Linked DNA regions of Homo sapiens: all the other regions are linked to region 2. Evidence: promoter capture Hi-C in 16 types of primary human blood cells and fetal thymus (Javierre and others, 2016). All regions are on one chromosome and are shown on one strand. Each heading gives the region's core, a stretch centred on a gene start or on the middle of the fragment in contact. The rest is flanking DNA. Distances are from core to core; before and after follow the strand shown. Region 1 overlaps LOC107985189 (a long non-coding RNA gene). Region 2 holds the start of RHOC (ras homolog family member C). Region 3 overlaps CTTNBP2NL (CTTNBP2 N-terminal like).

Evidence for each region. The method cuts DNA at HindIII sites, captures the fragments that hold promoters and counts their contacts. A CHiCAGO score of 5 or more calls a contact.
Region 1: a fragment that was not itself captured here is called in contact with the fragment with the promoter of RHOC in region 2 in 2 of 17 cell types (M1 macrophages and M0 macrophages); the score reaches 5.5 in M1 macrophages.
Region 3: a contact is called between a fragment that was not itself captured here and the fragment with the promoter of RHOC in region 2, in 11 of 17 cell types (total B cells, neutrophils, naive B cells and 8 more). The highest score is 9.5, in total B cells.

What each region holds. Positions count from the first base shown.
Region 1 is chr1:112,983,442-112,986,141 of GRCh38, forward strand. It overlaps LOC107985189 (a long non-coding RNA gene), which reads right to left. Exons shown (of 2, transcript XR_001738193.2): 1 at 1-2,700. Among named protein-coding and RNA genes, the nearest start is that of SLC16A1-AS1, 28 kb to the left of the region's middle. The HindIII fragment of the contact is 2,638 bases long and covers 1-2,598 here.
Region 2 is chr1:112,705,780-112,708,479 of GRCh38, forward strand. It overlaps RHOC (ras homolog family member C), which reads right to left and starts at 1,348. Exons shown (of 6, transcript NM_175744.5): 1 at 1,299-1,348. RefSeq lists a silencer at 1,068-1,787. The HindIII fragment of the contact is 12,151 bases long and covers 1-2,700 here.
Region 3 is chr1:112,403,162-112,405,861 of GRCh38, forward strand. All of the region lies in intron 1 of CTTNBP2NL (CTTNBP2 N-terminal like), which reads left to right. Among named protein-coding and RNA genes, the nearest start is that of CTTNBP2NL, 8.3 kb to the left of the region's middle. RefSeq lists an enhancer at 1,314-1,839. The HindIII fragment of the contact is 6,480 bases long and covers 1-2,700 here.

The sequences.
Region 1 (2,700 bases), core at 30-2,529, 280 kb after region 2:
TGAGAGACCTTTAGGGCTCTTTAGTTCTCATCCTGAAAGCTGTGGGACAGATTATAAATTGATATCTTTTATATCAGTATAGCTCATGCTTGGTTGATGTGCCTGATGGGCTATAGGAGTGATTGACTCAGCTACTATTTTGGTGAGGAAAGAGAGTCTTCCTTAGAAAGAGAATTGTGTGCCTTGCCCTAAAAAGGTTAGGAATGCGGCCTATGGTCCTAATTAAGTGCCCTGTTAAACAGTGTCCCTTGAACAAGTCACTTTCTTCTTCTGCAACTTCTCCAGCTATATAATTAAGCATGTAATCCTGTGTGACTTCATAGTAGGGTTGTGAGGACAGGCTATTCCCACCGTCTGGAGTTGTCTTCCCCTCACTTTTCCATTGCCAAATAAATCGTCCTTATCTTTTGGAGTTAAGTTGAAACATCAATTTCTTGAGATTGTTTCAGATCCTACTTTTCTACTGCCCAAAACCCGTAGTTCCCCAGTCTGTCACTTTATAGCACCTGGCACTTCCCTTTTTGCAACCAATGTCACGCTTATTGTAATAGTTGTTCAATGTCTATCTTCCCAATTAGACTAGAAGTTTCATTAGCATAGAAATCCTATCTTTTGCACCTCGATTCTTAGCACAATCTTGGGCATTGTGCTTTGTACCTATTTGGATGATGAATGAAAGATGAATGATTACATCTCATAATCACTTTGAGATTCCTTTCTGAAAACTCCAATATTGAACTCTTTGTGCCTTTCTAAATATGCTGGTAAAACTGAGAACAGGTTTTTCTATTAGAGTGAAAAGGACTGCTGTTTATTGAATGTTTCCCCCTACCTCGCTACTCCTTACCTTTTCCTATTATGACAATCTTAAATTCTCTCCATGGCAAGCTGTTCCCAACTCCCTAAACAGTCATTTCTAGGAAGACTGCAGGCTGTTCATTTTGTTTTCTTTTTTGAGACAGGGTCTCACTGTGTGGCCCAGGCTGGAGTACAGTGGCGCGATCTCGGCTCACTGCAACCTCCGCCTCCTGGGTTCAAGCGATTCTTCTGCCTCAGCCTCCCGAGGAGCTGGGACTACAGGTGCGCACCACCACGCCCAGCTAATTTTTGTAATTTTAGTAGAGATGGGGTGTCACCATGTTGGCCAGGCTGGTCTCGAACTCCTGACCTTGTAATCTGCCCACCTTGGCCTCCCAACGTGCTGGGATTACAAGTGTGAGCCACCGTGCCCGGCCACAGGCTGTTTGTTTTTAAATGAAACAAAAAATCCAAACTGGCTTTTAGAATTAACTGTTGTCTTTCCTCACATTTTTGTCAATTTAAAGAACTGTTAAGCTCCTGTAAAAAAGATGTTATGTAATCTGTAACTACATTTGAGAATGTTAGTCAACTTCAAATAAATTCTTACCAAAATACCTTTTTCTTGTTAACACTAATTGTTGCTGAAATATTAACCTGAACTTGCATATCATTCTATCTGGCAACTTTTCAGAATAGATTCATACCAGCTTCACATGCCATTTATTAATTCATCAATTAATTGATTCAGTAATTATTAGTGAACACTAAATGTCAGGCACTTTTCTAGATGTTTGGGAATATCAGTAAATAAAACAGATTCTTGCCCTCAAGGAAATATTTATAGAACTGCTGTTGTATAAACAGTACTCATCAAATATTCCACTGCTCCCCTGCTTTTCCCAGCATCCCTTACAGTTAGGTTTGGATCATGTGATTACAGCAAGCTAATGGCCTATCAAGGAAATGACATGTATCATTTTTAGGCTGAGGAAGGTATAAGCTAATGTGCTCCCCAACCCTGTTATTACCTGTCACACAACCCCAGAGGTTAATATTCCACATGGTTCAGCCACAAGATATAATTTGAGTCATTTTGGTTACTGAGTCTCATAGTCCGTTTGTGCTGCTATAGCAACATACCTAAGACTAGATAATTTACAAATAATAGGAATTCGTTTCTCACAGTTCTGGAGTCTGCAAAGTCCAATATCAAGCCACTAGTAGATAATGCCTTGTTGCTGCATTTTTCAGAGGGTCTGAAATCTGTGTCCTTACATGGAGGAAGAGACAGAAGGGGCAAACCCACCCCCTCAAGTCCTCTTCTAAAGCACTGTGAGAGTGGAGCCCTCAGGGCCTACCCTCTGAAGGCCCTACCTCTTAAAGAGTGTTTCATTGTAGATTAAATTTCAATATGAGTTTTGGAGGAGACACAAACTGTAGAATTCCACCCCTGGCCCCCCAAAATATATGTCCTTCTTACTTACAAAATATAATCATTCCATCCCAATAACATCAAAAGTCTTAACTTGTTCCAGCATCAACTTTAGAGTCTGACTCTGAAGTCTCATCTAAATATCATCTTCATAACATTTGGATGTGACTCAAGGTACAATTCATCATGAGGCAAATTCCTCTCCCGTTGTGAGCCTGTGAAATCAAGTTATGTGCTTCCAAAATACAATGGTGTACAGGCATACGACAGACATTCCCATTCTAAAAGGGAGCAATAGGCAAGAAGAAATGGGTAACAGGTCTCAAGTAAGTCCAAAATCCAACAAGGCAAACTTTAAATCTTGAAGCTTCAGAAAAACAATCTTTGACTCTATGTGCGACCTTCTGGACACCCTGGGGTGAGGGTTGGGCCCCCAAAGCCCTGGACAGCTGCATTCCTATGGCATC
Region 2 (2,700 bases), core at 98-2,597:
GTGTTGATGGAGGGCAATCACTACTGGGGTGAAAGCCAGTCACTTAGGCATGAGTATGCCACTGCTGTCCCCCCAGCAGGGTAATTCAGACGGCACCAGAGTGGTGGGAGGCAGAGGACAGAAACCCGGGGTTGAGGCATGCGTTAAGGGACCTGGAGCCTCCAGCCCAATTAGAAGACTTTCCCTCCAGGCTATGATTGGGCCAGAACAGCAGGCAGCCCAGGCCAGGACACTAGGCCCAAGGCCAAGATGGCATGGACAACTCCCTGTGAGAGGCAGCCCCAGAGGGACTGTCCCACTGACCCCTTAAGAGGGGCAACTGAGCCCCACACAGGGCCTGGAATGGAGCCTGGAACTTCTGGGGCCTTCCCCAAGACAAGACAGTGTGGCTACATCAGACCTCTCTCCAATCGCTCTCTTGAATTCCCAGATGATCCAGAGCGGCCGGTTGACTTTGCCGGCCCACCCTACACCTAGGGAAGGAATCCGTTCTGGAGATACCAAGAGATACTGCATTCTCAACTTTAAAACCAGAGTGAGGGCGGGACTCGGCCTCGGGATCCCAGTCCCAAACCCCAGGATACTCTTTCTTGGTTCGAGTATGAAGAAGGAGGATTCTCAATCTCATTTTCTCTCTCTCTCTCTCTCTCTACACACACACACACACACACACACACACACACACCACACACACACACACACACACACACACACACACACACACACACACACACACACACACACACACACACACACACAGAGTTGGATCCTTCCCCATCTCCCTTATCCTCAACACAAGCGGGCTCCAGGAACCGTCCAGGGCGGCGTCCAGACCCTGCCGAGCAGTGGCAGGCCCCAATGGTCACATCCCGCCCCTATTCCCGCCATACCTCCCTCCTGGCCTGGAGGAATTCCCACCCCATCCCACTCTAGGTCCCCTGCGGCCGCCCACCCTGGGGGCTGGGGCGTCTGAGTTGAAGTTCCCTCGCCCCTCGCCCGGCGGGGCAGGTTCCGGGAAGCTGGGAGGAGAAGGGAAGGGGCTCCGACTCGGACCTCAGGAGGCCAGAGCCCCTGCCGGCAGGTCCGGGCCCCCTCGCTGCAGCCCGGGGAGGGGCCGACGCGGTCCGACCACCGCCCAGCCCGGATGCCGACTCCGCTTGGAGGGAACGGGGTCCACGCCCAGGCCGAAGCCCCTCCTCGCACGGGCCCCGATCTCCGGGCCAGCGAGGAAGGGAAAGTGCTCTCCTGGGGACGAGTTCCCAAGACGCCCCACCGCCCGCAGCCCCGGCCCAGGGTACCTTCCGCTCCGCCGCCTCCAGCTGCGCGGCCGGTGCCGGAGGCTCAGACTGACCCCAGGGCCCCGCCCCGCCCTCCTCCAGCGCCGCGGCGGGGAGGGCGGGCCCGGCAGGGGGAGGGTCGGCCGGGGGCGGCCCTTGGCTCGGCCCGCCCCGGCCCCGCGCAGGGCCGCAGCCACCGGCCCCCTCCGCAGGCCGGGGACTGGGGGCCAGGGGCGTCCACCCCTCCAGGTCGGGGAGAGCCACGGGGAGATTCCTGGACTGCGGAGGAGCCGGGCGAGCGGGGGGAGCACGACCCGGGTGGACTCAGACTCTGCCCAGCCTTCAATCCCCTAGGGGAGGACCGGCGTCGGGAAAGTTAAGAGGTGCTCGGGGTGGGGTCAGGAAGGGCCGCTGCTGCCCTCCTGTGGCCAAGCGGCCACCCGCTCCTGCTGCACCTGGGACCTCGCGGGAAGCGGGACTGGGAAAGGGTATCCGCCGGGAGGTCCCAGGGCCCGGCGCGGGTGTGTTGGTTGGGGGGAGATGTCCACCCTCTTGTTCCTAGGATCGTACAGCCCAACGTCATCCCCCAAACTTGAAGACCTCTCAGAGCCGTTCAGACCCAGACCACCGTTCCTCCTCACAATTCGCTTTCTTCCCTGGGCCTGGAATTTCCAGGAGTCCAATTCCTACCTACTCCTCAAAGGGTGCGCCTAGAAATGCTTCTGGATCCCAGCTGTGAATTCTGTTCCCACTCCTAGGTCTGACTTGGCGCATAGGATATTTACCTACACGCGTATCTCCTTTCCCTGTAAGGGAGCTGAGGAGGTGGGAGTAGAATGAGGACGTCCACCAACATTTCATTGGCTTGTGCTTGGGACACTACACAGCTTAACCCTTTCAATATTCATCACAGATCTCTGGGGAAAATATACCCATCCCCTTTTGCCCATAGAGAAGCTGAGGTTCAGAGAAATCAAGTGGCTTACACAACTGTTTTTGACTTGTGACAGCAAGAATTCACACAGCCGGGCCTGTCTGGCTCCAAACTGGTGGTCTGGCCCTGCTACCTCACGGGCTCCTCCAGCCTGTCCCTTCCCCCGTTGTCTAGCAGAGTGAGTGGCACATAATAGGTTGTCAACAAATATTTGATGAATGAATGAATGTTAGGAGTCATACAGACTTTAAATATCTGAAGTGCAATCCAGACATTTGACAAATGTGAAAACAGGTCCGCAGCAGTTTGGCCCCAGGCCTCTTAACTGACTCAATGAACATTTCTCGAGGGTGAACTGAGAGCTATGTTCGGAAGATCCATTTCTGCCTTCAAACAACTTAGAGTCTAAATGAGGAATGCAATTTCAAGATAGCTAACATTTATTGAATCCATATTACATGGACCTGGGTCCACATACATTAACTACAA
Region 3 (2,700 bases), core at 72-2,571, 300 kb before region 2:
ATTTTTGCCTCATACCTATGCTGTTAAATTTTTTTCCCGACTACTCTTTCTGTTTCCATTTTCTCTTCAGTCAAGTCAGCCCTGTACTGTAAGCATTAACTTTCCTAAAACTATGCTTTTGTTATGATTTTCACCAGGTTAAAAATGTTGAGTGGCTTCCCATTTTCTAAAAGGTAAAGTCCAGTTGTGTTGGCTGAGATTGAAAGTGCTGTACATTTCTTTCCAACCAGCATTTTTTCAGTATCTGAACCAGACACTGCTAGTGCTAAGTGTGATCAAGTTGAATAGACAGAGTAGTTGTTCAGATGAGTTCAGAGTCTTGTGAGACAGAAGACAGATATGTAAACAGATGAATTGATGTAATAGAATGTGATAACTGCTCTTGAATTACGAATGTAGATACATATCCATTATGCATTTAATTTAATGTAAAAAAATAGCTGTGATATTTTCAGGAAACCCATTTCTCAGTCATCACAAGTTAAAGTTGTGACTTGATTAAAACCTGTTAAAATTCAGTGGAAGCAAAGGTATGCGTTTACCTGTATGCTAAAGGCACAAAAAACTAATCTAAGCAGAAGGCTGGCCTTTTCTTTTCCCAAGTATTGTGCAGATACAATTGGCTTGAACATGTCTCTAAACTGACTTTCCCAGGAACTGGCCAGGCCATCTCTTTCTTTTTGGTGCAGATCAACCTGCCAGAAGTCAGAAGTAAACTTGTTTTGGTTTGTAAATTAGACACGTGAATGATAGACAATGATGACCCATTGGAAAAGGAAAACTTCATTATCCTTGCAGATGAAACCAAAAAGTATGCTCTTTAAGGATGAGAAATGAGAAGCTGACCAGTCACTAACTCATTTAAACCATGCAGCCTCCTGTTACAGTATGTATTGTTATGTCCATTTTATAGCTAAAAAACTGAAGTTCAAAGGTTAAATGGATGAAAGAGCAAGTGGCAGAGCCAGGATGCAAACTCAGCTCTGTCAGATTCCAAAATCCATGTGCTTTCCACTATAACATACTGTCTCCCAGCAGAATTACTGTCCCTGAAGAACCATAGAACAACAATTGCCAGGCTTGTTGTTGGAAATATTCAACTGATACTCAATTGTTAAATTTTTTTTAAGTCAGTTATCTGTCTTAGAAGACAAAACAACATCACGAGTTTTATTTCTGCTAGAGGATTATTTGAAGTTTTTTTTGCAGTTCAGATAAAGTCAGGTTATGGGCATCGCTAAAACACAGATTCCTTAACTGTTTGATGGTTAATCCTTCATACCATACTCTGGAGTTTCTCCCCAGTGTGGAATCTTAGTGGAATCAATGACGTCATCATCCTACATTAGCATTTGAAGGGTTTGCATTCCAGGCTGCCTCTAGAATTGTGGCCCATGAATCATCTTACTGAAAATAATCAATCTACATGTTATTGTTCCCTTGTGGTATTTTACAAGTTATGGTGGCATTATTTCAGAAAAGCAAAAATTTAGGGGACTGATGGACAGATAGACAATAGAGACGGTCAGATACATATTTGATTGAAATCATGTTACAATTTCATTTAAATGAAATAAAGCCATCTAACAAATTATATAGAAATGATTCAGCCGGGTGCAGTGGCTCACGCCTGTAATTCCAGCACTTTGGGAGGCCGAGGTGGGCGGGTCACTTGAGGTCAGGAGTGCCAGACCAGCTTGACCAAAATGGAGGAACCCCGTCTCTACTAAAAATACAAAATTAGCCAGGCATGGTGGCACAAGCCTGTAATCCCAGCTACTTGGGAGTCTGAGGCAGGGGAATCTCTTGAACCAGGAGGCGGAGGTTGCGGTGAGGCCGAGGTTGCGGTGAGCCGAGGTTGCGCCATTGCACTCCAGGCTGGGCAACAAGAGCAAAACTCCATCTCAAAAAAAACAAACAAAAAAAATGTAATGTTTCAGTTTCCTGGTAATAATATTCTGATGTTAAAAGACATATCTTTTTTAAAATGTTCAATGATAAAAAATTTATTAATATAAAAGTTGTTATTCATTTTCATTAACATCCATTCCAGTAGCTTAACTAATGTAGTTCTAGTTTGGCCTTGTCTCAGATGAGAATACCTGAGATGGTGTAAACAGATATCCAGGTAGACAGACCTTTTGTTCTTGTTTTGAGATAGAGTCTTGCTCTGTCTCCCAGGCTGTAGTGCAGTGGTGCAATCTCAGCTCACTGCAACCTCCACCTCCTGGGTTCAAGCGATTCTCTTTCCTCAGCCACCTGAGAAGCTGGGATCACAGGTGTGCGCCACCATGCCCGGCTAATTTTTGTATTTTTAGTAGAGATGGGGTTTCACCATGTTGGCCAGGCTGGTCTTGAACTCTTTATCTCAGGTGATCTGCCTGCCTCGGCATTCCAAAGTGCTGGGATTACATGCGTGAGCCGCTGCACCCAGCCCAGACCTGTTTTTAATAGCTTTGCACTAATGTTCTCATTTGAGGGAAGAGATATCTGAATGTTTGTTTATGGGCATAAGGCTACTTCCTTCTTTTCTTCAATATACATATAAATCTTGCTGACATCATATATGAGAGACAGAGAAAGAGATGTGTACACACACACACTTACACATTCACACATTCACACTCACAGAGAGATATAGCAGAGTTGCATGAGTCTTAGAACTAAACAAAACAAAAACCTGATACCTATTATGTTGTC